Regions from separate parts of the Homo sapiens genome. Here regions 1, 2 and 4 are each linked to region 3. Evidence: promoter capture Hi-C in 16 types of primary human blood cells and fetal thymus (Javierre and others, 2016). All regions are on one chromosome and are shown on one strand. The core of a region is centred on a gene start or on the middle of the fragment in contact, and the rest is flanking DNA. Distances in the headings are between cores, read along the strand shown. Region 1 overlaps MYO5A (myosin VA). Region 2 overlaps TMOD3 (tropomodulin 3). Region 3 holds the start of GNB5 (G protein subunit beta 5). Region 4 overlaps TMOD3 (tropomodulin 3).

Region 1 (2,700 bases), core at 42-2,541, 300 kb before region 3:
ATGTACTTGGATAAAAGGGGATTAAACAGTAAATATCTTTGTTTTTGTTAGCATGAGACAGATCTTCTGACACTTGGAGCCTGACTCATGTTACTTTAGAGAATCCAATAAAAAATACATGGCTTAGTGTTCATTACTTGCTTTTCAGGAGGTAACCCTGGCGGGGATCTCTGAGCAAAAGCTGGCTTTAATTATCTAGAGTTGGTACAGTGTCATTGTGACTAGATATTATGATGTAGGTGGAAATGTGGGGTTTTCTTATTTTTTAAAGACTCTATAAAAACAAAATATTAATAGAAAACATCAGAACCCTACTAAAAATTGTAGACCCCCACATGCATTAATTTTCTATGCAATGAAATCCTTCAGTACCTTAGTAATGAAGTTCTAATTAATGAGTTACTTAAGTCCCTCTTAATTCAACTTGGTAGGAATAATCCAACAGCCAAGGCCCAATGTAGTTATCATCGTAGGTCATCTTTGGAGATGTGCCTTTTTTGAAACAGCTGGATGGTTGGGCGTTTAATAAATATTTAGAATGTAAATGTATACTTAAATTTAAAAAAATTAAATTGTAAAATACACATAACGTAAGTTAACCATCTTAACCATGTGTAAGTGTACAGGTCAGTAATGTTAAGTACATTCATATTGTTGTACAACCAGGCCAGGCATGGTGCTCACACCTATAATCCCAGCACTTTGAGAGGCTGGGGCAGGAGGATCCCTTGAGCGCAGGAGTTCAAGACCAGCTTAGGTAACATAGTGAGACCCCGTCTATACAAAAAATAAAAAAATTAGCTGGATGTGGTGGCTGCACCTCTAGTTATAGCTACTTGGGAGGCTGAGGTGGGAGGATTGCTTGAGCCCAGGAGTTTGAGGTTGCAGTGAGCTGTGATCATCACACCACTGCACTCCAGCCTCGGCAACAGAATGAGACCCTGTCTCAAACAACAACAACAACAACAACATATTGTTGTACAACCAATCTCTAAAACTCTTCATCTTGCAAAACTATATCCCTGTACCCATTAAACAATAACTCCCTATTCCCCACTCCCTCTAGTCCCTGGCAACCATTATTCTACTTTCTCTCCCTATGAATCTGACTACTCTAGGTACCCTATATAAGTGGAATCATATAGTATTTGTCTTTTCATGACTGGCTTATTTCATATGGCGTAATGTCCTCAAGGTTCATCCATGTCGTGACATCTTTCAGAATTTCCTCAAGGTTCATCCATGTCGTGACATCTTTCAGAATTTCCTTCTCTTTTGAGGCCAAATAATATTCTTTTGAGTAAATACACCACATTTTTGTTTAATCTATTCATCCATTGATGGACATGGGTTGCTTCCATCCTTTGGCTATTGTGAAGAATGCTGCTGTGAACATGGGTGTACAAGCATCTCTTTGAGACCTTGCTTTCAAATCTTTTGGATATATAACCAGAAGTGGGATTCCTCGGTTATATAGGAATTATATATTTAATTTTTTGAGGAACCACCATACTGTTTTCCGTACTGGCTGCACCATTTTACATTACCAGGGTGCAGAGGTTCTAATTTCTCCAGGGCACAATCGTTCTAATTTCTCCACATCCTGTCCAACTCTTGTTATTTTCTAGTTTTTTGATAGTAGGTATTCTAATAGGAGTGAAATGGTATCTCATTGTAGGCTTGATTTGCATTTCCCTAATGATTAATGATGTTCAGCATCTTTTCATGTGCCTATTGGCCATTTGTGTATCTTGTTTGGAGAAACGTCTATTCAAAGTCTTTGCTCATTTTAAAATCAGGTTGTTCATCATTGTTGCTGTTCAGCTGTAGAATTCTTTTATTTTTGTTTTAAATTTACTTAGAGACAGGTCTCACTATGTTGCCTAGGCTAGTCTTGAACTCCTGGGCTCAAGCAGTCCTCCTGCCTTGGCCTCCCAAAGTGCTGAGGTTACAGGTGTGAGCCACCATGCACAGCTGAGTTGTAGAATTCTTTATATATTCTGGGTATGAATCTTTTATCAGATATATGATTTGCAAATATTTCCTTTCATTATGTGGGTTTCCTTTTCACTCTGTTGATTGTGCCCTTTGATGCACAGAGGTTGGTTTTTTTTTTTTTTTTTAGACAAAGTCTTGCTCTGTCACCAGGCTGGAGTGCCCTGGCACGATCTTGGCTCACTGCAACCTCTGCCTCCTGGGTTCAAGCAGTTCTCCTGCCTCCGCCTCCCGAGTAGCTGGGACTACAGGTGCGTGCCACCACGCCCGGCTAATTTTTTGTATTTTTAGTAGAGACGGGGTTTCACTGTGTTAATCAGGATGGTCTTGATCTCCTGACCTCGTGATCCGCCCGCCCCGGCCTCCCAAAGTGCTGGGATTACAGGCATGAGCCACCGCGCCCAGCCGATGCAGAGAGGTTTTAAATTTATTTACCTTTTTCTTTTATTGCCTGTGCTCCTGGTGTCAGCTCCAAGAAATCAGTGCCAAATTCAGTATCATGAAGTTTTCCTCCTGTATTTTCTTCTAAGAGTCTTACAGTTTTAGCTCTTAACATTTAGGTCTTTGGTCCATTTTGAGTTAATTTTTCTATGTGGTATAAGGAAGGTTTATCTTCATTCTCTGCAGTTTTACTTTTACACTTTGGTCTAATGGTGCATGTACACGCCATGTAGAAGATAAGTTAAGGTTCTAAATTTAGTTATG
Region 2 (2,700 bases), core at 41-2,540, 300 kb after region 3:
AGTGGGATCCCTCTCACTTAAGTTCAGCAAGGTAGTCTTCAAGATAGCTAGGGAAGAACTTCCTCATTGAATGGAAAATTGAATAGTTCTAATTTTATAAAACCAAAAGATTTCTTTCCCCATTCCACACATCCTGTGGAGTGGGGAAAGATGGAATGGGGAGAGAAATCTTAAGAGCCTTGCCCCTTAATGAAATAATGAATCCAGTCAATGGGATGCAGGAATTATTAAGCAAAAGGTTCATGGGAAACTTAAAAAGGATGGGTCAGGCTGCCTACATTTGAACCCTGTGATCAATCTCATTCCCCCAAAGAGGAAGGATTAGACTTCATAAGCTTCTTAATATGATTCAGTCACCACCCATGAAGCATTCTTGCCAAAAGGGACCTGCACCTGCATCTCATCAAGCCACTAGAACTAACAGTTTACAGAAACATAGGTGATAGAAAAACATAAAATGATACCATAAGGTTGAAATCAGCCAAATCCAGAATGTGGAAAATTCTACGAAAAATAAACCCAGTTTCTTAAAAAATAAATGGCACAGAAAAAAAAAAAAAAAAGGAAAGAGGTTGGGGAGGAGAACTGTTAAGAAATTAAGGGAGACTAAAAAGACAAACAACCAAATGCAGTGTGTAACCTTTTTTGAGCCAATCATGAAACGACATTTTGGAGAGAACAGAGGAAATCTGGACACAGACTGGGTATTACATGATATGAAGAAAATACCGTTAATTTTTAAGTTTGATGATGGCATCATGATTACATTAAAAGAAAAGCCTTTATTTGTGAGACACACATATGGAAATATTTATAGGTATGTAATACAAATGAACAGGGTTTGCTTTAAAATACGTCAAGAAAAAAAAGTAGAAGGGTTAGGAAGGGAGACAGAAGATGAATAAAACAAGGCTGGCAAATGTTAAAAACAGCGGAAACTGGGTAATGAATATATTATTCTCTCTTCTTCTATGTGTGTTTGAACATTTCTACAATAAAAACTTAAAAATGAGAAGGGGGATGGTCAAATTACAAAACATCGTAGAAAGGAATGTTATACACATGTCTGAATGATGTAGATGTATACATATTAACTAGAAAACACGGTCGACTGCTAAGTGATACACTATATAACACGGGTTAAAATCCTTACCACTGACTTTGTGTAAAATATTGAGGTTACCCAATTATTTTAAAATGTCAGCTTTCTCACATGCAAATTAAAAATAATAATATCTATTTCATAGAACTGTTGTCAGGGCTAATAAGAGTACTTCACGTCCAAGAGCTGTGCACACAACATGGCCCACAGTAAGCATTCAAAAACAGTTGGCCAGGCACAGTGGCTCATGCCTGTAATCCCAGCACTTTGGGAGGCTGAGGTGGGCAGATCACCTGAGGTCAGGAGTTCGAGACCAGCCTGGCCAACATCGCAAAACCCCATCTCTACTAAAAAAAAAAAAAAAAAAATTAGCTGGACAAGGTGGCGTGCACCTGTCAAATCCTAGATACTCAGGTGGCTAAGGCAAGAGAAGCGCTTGAACCTGAGAGGCGGAGGTTGCAGTAAGCCAAGATGGTACCACTGCACTCCAGCCTGGGTGACAGAGCAAGACTCCGTTTCCAAAAAAAAAAAAAAAATTAGCTAATAGAATTATTATTGAAAAATTAAGTTGCAATAAATATTTACAGTATAATCGATTTTTTGTAAAAAATAAGAGACTATGTATAATATGTATACATTAGTATAAACAGTGCAAAGCCTGGAAGGGTATATACAAAATTGTTAACAGGGTAGGTGGTGTTTGGGGAAGTAGAGGGCATGATGGCTGGAGACAGAGACACTTTTACCTCTTCCCATAAATACTTATGTACTGTTTAAATGTGCTACAAAGGCATGTATCACCTTGCTAATTTAAGAACACCCTATACATGAATTTATTTTTTGAGATAGGGTCTTGCACTGTTGCCCAGGCTCGAGTGCAGTAGTGTGATCACAGCTCACTGCAGCCTCAAGCTCCTGGGCTCAAGCCATCCTCCCCTCAGCCTCCCAAGTAGCTGAGACTAGAGACATGTGCCACCATGCCCAGCTAATTTTTAAAATTTTTTAGAGATGGGGGTCTACGTTTCCAATGCTGGTCCTGAACTCCTGGACTCAAGCAATCCTCCTGCCTCAGCCTCAGAAAATGAAATTACAGTCATGATCCACCACACCTGGCCCCTATAAATGAGTTTCTGAAAAGCTTTGCTTTAGGCTATATAATACTTCACATCAGACTGAAAGGTTTAGGGGCTGAATAGTTTTGTGGTATCTCCTGAATCTGATTTTATAATGTAATTTCTTTGTAAGTACTGTTATGTATTTCTTGAAAATTAGTAGTAGTGATAATAAAATGTCAACAAAACCAAGTTGGACTAGCTTTTATACTGTTTAGCATTATTTAGTGAGGTAGAGTGGTTCTTATTACATTTGCTGACCCATTAAACACAAAATATTTAATACTCTATTTTCAATGGCTTTCTTGGTTAATACCACCAAACTGAAATGTCAGGTTTCAAGTACATATATATAACATCTAGTATGTGAACACTTAAGCTGACACAAGGCGAAAACAAAATATATTTAATAAAGGATTAGAATTCACAAAGCATTTTAAGTACTCACTTGAAAAATGTTCTTGGTCAACACCATTACTACTTCCC
Region 3 (2,700 bases), core at 99-2,598:
ACTAAAAAATTGTGTCGGACCCTACTTTTGAGAAATCTACGTTTCCCAAGTTTTATGGGAACTGGCTATTCCTTGTCCCGGCACACCTTCTCATTCCTTCCTTTCAGAGCCTAAAACCTCATTTGATAAGCACTCCTAGTCTCTGGCCTGTGGATCCAGTGCTATTCTGTCACCAACCTAAGAATCCCAATTGCACCTTCTGTTTCTGACAGTCACAGGTGACAGCTGTGATTCTATAATACAGACTGGTGTCTTAGAGGTAGGAATAATACATGATTATGAAGCATCACCCTGCTAATACATAATAATGTCTTTTTATATTATAAGTGATTGAGTTTAGTTCATTTCAATACATTGTACATGAAAAAATGAAAAGTAGAACTTTGTAATACTTTAATCAATAAAATTAATTACCAAATGAATTGGGTCAGATTCTTTCATTGCGAGGAGATGACATGTCTCTTAAGTGTACAAGTTGTATGCCTTTCTTTACGGTCATACTGAAAGATGCTAGAATCTTTATAGATTCATAATATCTCATTTAAAGTATATTAAAATGTTTAGAGAAGAAGTAAATATGTCATAAGTGCTGGCTTAGGCTGTGTCTCCAGGGCGCTTCCACACTGTCAGAATGAGGGGCTACTTGGCAGAGAATTGGCAGGGTTTCTGATCCTGAGCTGCGGCCTCCATGCCCTTTCTAGACCTTCCCCACACCATGAGGAGCCATCACTGTTGGTTTTCGGCTTCCATAACTCAGGATTTATGCCTGTTTTATAGCACTTACCCTGGACTGGAAGCCAGAAATGCTGCCCATTTCCTCTGTAGGCCTGTGAGCCCCAGAGGGCAGGTGCCACATCCTCCTCATCCCTGCCTTCATCCTACTGCTGATGAGGTGGGAAGAGAACTGAAGGAGCAAAGTCCCGTTGGAGGACTGTGTGTGTGTGGTGGGGAGTCAACCATGGGAAAAAGTAGGTCATGTTTGGGGACAGGGAGACCTGTGGAGGCTGAGGAGTTTATGTGTGGAAAAATGGGGAAAGGGAGGCACTCATCCCACAGTCTTGATCAGTTCTACAAAGCTGACAGTGGCAAGGAGACCAAAATAGAGAAATGTTAAGAACATGTGGCCCAGGTGAATGTGAGGGCTGCTCAGTGAGTGGGCGCAGACACAGAGGTCAAACCTGCCAAGGCCTCCCTCCACAGAGGGGCTGGGCAGGTTCCAGGGGTGAGTGAGGGATGCAGATGGCAGTGCGTGCCCAGCAGGGAGCATGGAAGTGCTGTGGAGGAAGGAAGCAAGCTGAGCAGCACTCCAGAGAAGATAAGGAGATTAGCCAGTGGGAGACGTGCTTCACACCTCAAGCTGCGCGCTGGTCCTCACCTCTCACCATCTGCTCTGTGGCTCCCAGTGCTGACTCTGGAAGGTATGTGCATGCTGACATTCGGTTAAAATACTCCAGCTTTTGAAATGCTCAGAAAAGCATCCAGATGAGTACAGGGCACAGTGTTAGCAGGTCTTTCTGTGCGGTGGGAGCATGGGTGAGGGGTTTTGTTGTTGTTAATCCGTAGAATCTAATTTTTCTACAATACACATGAATTTATTTTGAAATAGTAAATTTCAAATATTTCAAATTGAAATATTTCAATATTTTTTACATTAATATTGGCATCAGGAAAGAGATTAAGCATACTTAAAATCACTAAGTCAGTTTTAAAATTTGATCCAGGTGACACATGGCAACATAAGCCTCTGAGTACAGCTTATGGGGTTAGAAAGAGGTTTTTAGTTGTAAGTCTGAGATACATCCACATTGTGTGTATCAGTTATTTTTTATTCTATGCTCATTTCACAGTTTCGTCTGTGACTGGTGAACATTTGGGTCTTTCAAGTTTAGGCCTTCTATGAATAGCTGCTATGACATTTATGTTTTTTTTTTTTTTTTTTTTTTTTTTTTTTTTTTTTTTTTAAGGAAATAAGCATTATTTTCTGTGGTGTATGTATGCACGAGTAGAATTGCCTGGTCATAGACTATATCCGTTTCACTTTAGTAGCTCCTACCAACCAGTTTTCTACAGTGGTTATACCGACTTATACTCCCACTAGCAGAGAAAGGCAGTTCCAGTCTCTGCATCCTTGCCCACACTTTGTGTTGTCAGGCTTTTTAGGTTTTCTGATGGCTAAGTAGTTGTATCACATCGTAGTTTTACTTTGTATTTCTATGATGACTAATGATAATGAGCACCTTTTTATATGTTTATTGACCATATAAGTATCCTCATTTGTGAAGTGACTACACAAGCCTTTTGTCCATTTTAAAAATAATCTTTGGGCTGGGCGCGGTGGCTCATGCCTGTAATCCCAGCACTTTGGGAGGCTGAGGCGGGCAGATCATGAGGTCAGGAGATTGAGAGCATCCTGGTTAACACGGTGAAACCCCATCTCTACTAAAAATACAAGAAATTAGCCGGGTGAGGTGGCGGGCGCCTGTATTCCCAGATATTTGGGAGGCTGAGGCAGGAGAATGGCATGAACCTGGGAGGCGGAGCTTACAGTGAGCCGAGATTGCGCCACTGCACTCCAACCTGGGCGACAGAGCAAGACTCTGTCTAAAAAAAAAAAAAAAAAAATTTATTGAGATATGATGTCCACGTTTTGTTTCATGTTTTAAAACCCATCATTTTAAAACATATATTTCAGTGTTTTTT
Region 4 (2,700 bases), core at 70-2,569, 280 kb after region 3:
TTAATGACAGCAAGAGTTAAATATAACGTACAATATGATATGAGTAACATTTTATAAAAAAAAAAAAATTTTTTTTTTTTTGAGACGGAGTTTCACTCTTGTTGCCCATGCTGGAGTGCAATGGCGCGACCTCAGCTAACTGCAACCTCCGCCTCCCGAGTTCTAGTGATTCTCCTGCCTCAGCCTCCCGAGTAGCTGAGATCACAGGTGTGTGCCACCACGCCTGGCTAATTTTGTATTTTTAGTAGAGACAGGGTTTCTCCATGTTGGTCAGGCTGGTCTCGAACTCCTGACCTCAGGTGATCCGCCCACCTCGGCCTCCCAAAGTGCTAGGATTACAGGCGTGAGCCACCGCACCCGGCCCAAAACATTTTTTAAAATAATTTTTATTATGTCATGGAATCCTCTTTTTAAACAAAAACACAACAGATACTCGGTCAACTGGAAAACAATTTATAGAATTCTATTTACATGTAACTTCTCCAGAGCGAATATCTTATACAAAGCAAGGATGTGGGTTATTTCAATCAAATAACATGAAGTCGCAATTAAATGACCAAGCTAACTCTCCTTGAAGTCTCTAACCATCTGCTAATTTATTTAATACAAAATGCTTATTTGGTCTTTTAAATGACAGGCAACTTTGAAAGTGTATTTCACCTATTCTTGAGAATTCTACTAGGCTTTAGCTACAAGAATATAGCACCAAAATCCATTTTAATAGTATTAATATTTGCCACTAATATTGAGTTTTTAATACATACAATTTCATGTAGGAATACTGGAAAAATTCAGACAAATATGAGTATAACATTTTATAAAATGGGTAATAAAAAGCTTTTTTAAAAATAGCAATTTAAAAACACAAAGAATATTCTTTTAAATAACCACATAAGCTGGTTAGACTACAAAACCTAAGGTCTCAGAAAACCTTTGGCTTAAAAATTAAGACTATTGCAAAACCCTAATCTATTTATTATAAAATTTTAGAGCAATTTAGAAATACTGAAAGTTACTAAGAGGTGCCAGATTTTTAAAGATTGAAGTAAACCCGATTTTTCTCCCTTATAATTTTGGAAAGATTTTGTAAATTCAATTGGATGAATGTTCATATTTAATGTCACTTATGAAGAAATCATTTCTTTCAGTTATACAATGAACTACTATAATGCAGAATTGAAATGGTACAAGCAAAATACTCAACTTCATACTTTGATAAATAATATATGAAAAAGATATTACCCATAAGTATGATGCAAAATTTTAGGTAGAGTCCCACTTACCTATATTAAAAACAAAAACAAAAACAAAACTTAAGGGATGAAGGGGGAACTATTTATCAACTAATTGACTTACAGGACAATGCAAACGAGGATGCCTGACTGAAAGTCTAGGTGACCAATTCTTTCTGGTAGCCTGAGATGCCTGCTCCATGCCTGACTCCCAATCTTGCTGGAACTGTGCAGTCTCTATAAAATCAAGTACAATCAAAAAGCTGCATATGCGGGGAAAAAAAAAGAGAGGAGAAGAGAGGGAGGGAGAGAAATAGGTAAATAGAGAAGGTAGGAAGGGAGAGGGATGGAGGCAAGGGAGGCAAGAAAGCAAGCAAGTGAGCCTTGCTAACTTAGAAAAATATCAGTGGCCTTTAACTGACAGGGAATAGTGCAAAGTTAACCTTTGGCCCCTATAAAACATTGGATACTGATTTAAAAAACAAAACAAAACAAAACCAAAAAACCAAAACAAACCAAAACAAAAAAAAAAAAAGAGAAACACCACAGTTCTTATGAGGGAAGCTTAGCCTGTTAAGAAGGCTTATTACCATAGCACACAAGAAGCTGCCTTGCTTATTAGATAAACTGTCCAGCCCAAGCCAAAGTAGCAGACATATTGCAATTCAATTTCAAAAAGTTTGTTTGTTTGTTTGTTTTTTGAGACAGAGTCTTGCTTTGTCACCCAGACTGCAGTGCAGTGGTACGATCTCAGCTCACTGCAATCTCCATCTCCCAGGTTCAAGCAATTCTCCTGCCTCAGCCTCCTGAGTAGCTGGGATTACAGGTGTGCACCACCACACCCGGCTACTTTTTTGATTTTTAGTAGAGACAGGGTTTCACCATGTTGGCCAGGCTGGTCTTGAACTCCTGACCTTAAGTGATCCACCCACTTTGGCTTCCCAAAAGTGCTGGGATTACAGGCGTGAGCCACTGCGCCCGGCCCAAAAAGTTTAAAAAAAATTAATAATGATTAGCCACCTTGCCTTCCTCAGAAATGAGACTTTTCCCTCCAGAAAAATCTCTGTAAATGATACAGCCAGGCCTGAATTTTGAGGCCAGGGCTACCTCAGATTCCATTCCTCCCTGTTTTCTGCAGCTGTAAATGCCTCTGCCATCTCCTGCTCCAGGGGCTGCCCTGAGACAGAACATGAATACAAGTCCAGACCCTCTACCCAGCATCAGCTCTGCAGTCTCAAATCAGTCTCCCGACCACAGTACTCTATTCAATTGTTCACCTTAATACTTTGAGCAAGAAAGACTGCTTTTATTATAGAAATGACTTTTATAAATATTGATAAAAGTATAAGATGAAAGGAAGCATATACTAAAAATTAGATTTATGAAGAATAGCAGTTTTCCTTCTTGGTTGGAAGATTTGTAGCAGTGATTAAATACTGTTTATGCAATTCTGCACTGCACATAGGAA

The links. Contacts are between HindIII fragments. The CHiCAGO score rates a contact against its expected background, and 5 or more counts as called.
Region 1: a contact is called between a fragment that was not itself captured here and the fragment with the promoter of GNB5 in region 3, in 1 of 17 cell types (total B cells). The highest score is 5.7, in total B cells.
Region 2: a fragment that was not itself captured here is called in contact with the fragment with the promoter of GNB5 in region 3 in 4 of 17 cell types (naive B cells, total B cells, activated CD4 T cells and 1 more); the score reaches 5.8 in naive B cells.
Region 4: a fragment that was not itself captured here is called in contact with the fragment with the promoter of GNB5 in region 3 in 9 of 17 cell types (M2 macrophages, total CD8 T cells, naive CD8 T cells and 6 more); the score reaches 7.6 in M2 macrophages.

The regions. Positions count from the first base shown.
Region 1 is chr15:52,488,985-52,491,684 of GRCh38, reverse strand. All of the region lies in intron 1 of MYO5A (myosin VA), which reads left to right. Among named protein-coding and RNA genes, the nearest start is that of MYO5A, 39 kb to the left of the region's middle. The HindIII fragment of the contact is 4,333 bases long and covers 1-2,700 here.
Region 2 is chr15:51,889,108-51,891,807 of GRCh38, reverse strand. TMOD3 (tropomodulin 3) reads right to left here. Exons shown (of 10, transcript NM_014547.5): 5 at 2,663-2,700. Among named protein-coding and RNA genes, the nearest start is that of TMOD3, 61 kb to the right of the region's middle. The HindIII fragment of the contact is 1,905 bases long and covers 338-2,242 here.
Region 3 is chr15:52,190,040-52,192,739 of GRCh38, reverse strand. GNB5 (G protein subunit beta 5) reads left to right here and starts at 1,348. Exons shown (of 13, transcript NM_016194.4): 1 at 1,348-1,418. MYO5C (myosin VC) reads left to right here. Exons shown (of 41, transcript NM_018728.4): 41 at 1-418. All of the region lies in intron 2 of CERNA1 (competing endogenous lncRNA 1 for miR-4707-5p and miR-4767), which reads right to left. RefSeq lists an enhancer at 751-1,250. The HindIII fragment of the contact is 7,593 bases long and covers 1-2,700 here.
Region 4 is chr15:51,909,809-51,912,508 of GRCh38, reverse strand. It overlaps TMOD3 (tropomodulin 3), which reads right to left. Exons shown (of 10, transcript NM_014547.5): 10 at 1-2,700. Among named protein-coding and RNA genes, the nearest start is that of LEO1, 61 kb to the left of the region's middle. The HindIII fragment of the contact is 959 bases long and covers 840-1,798 here.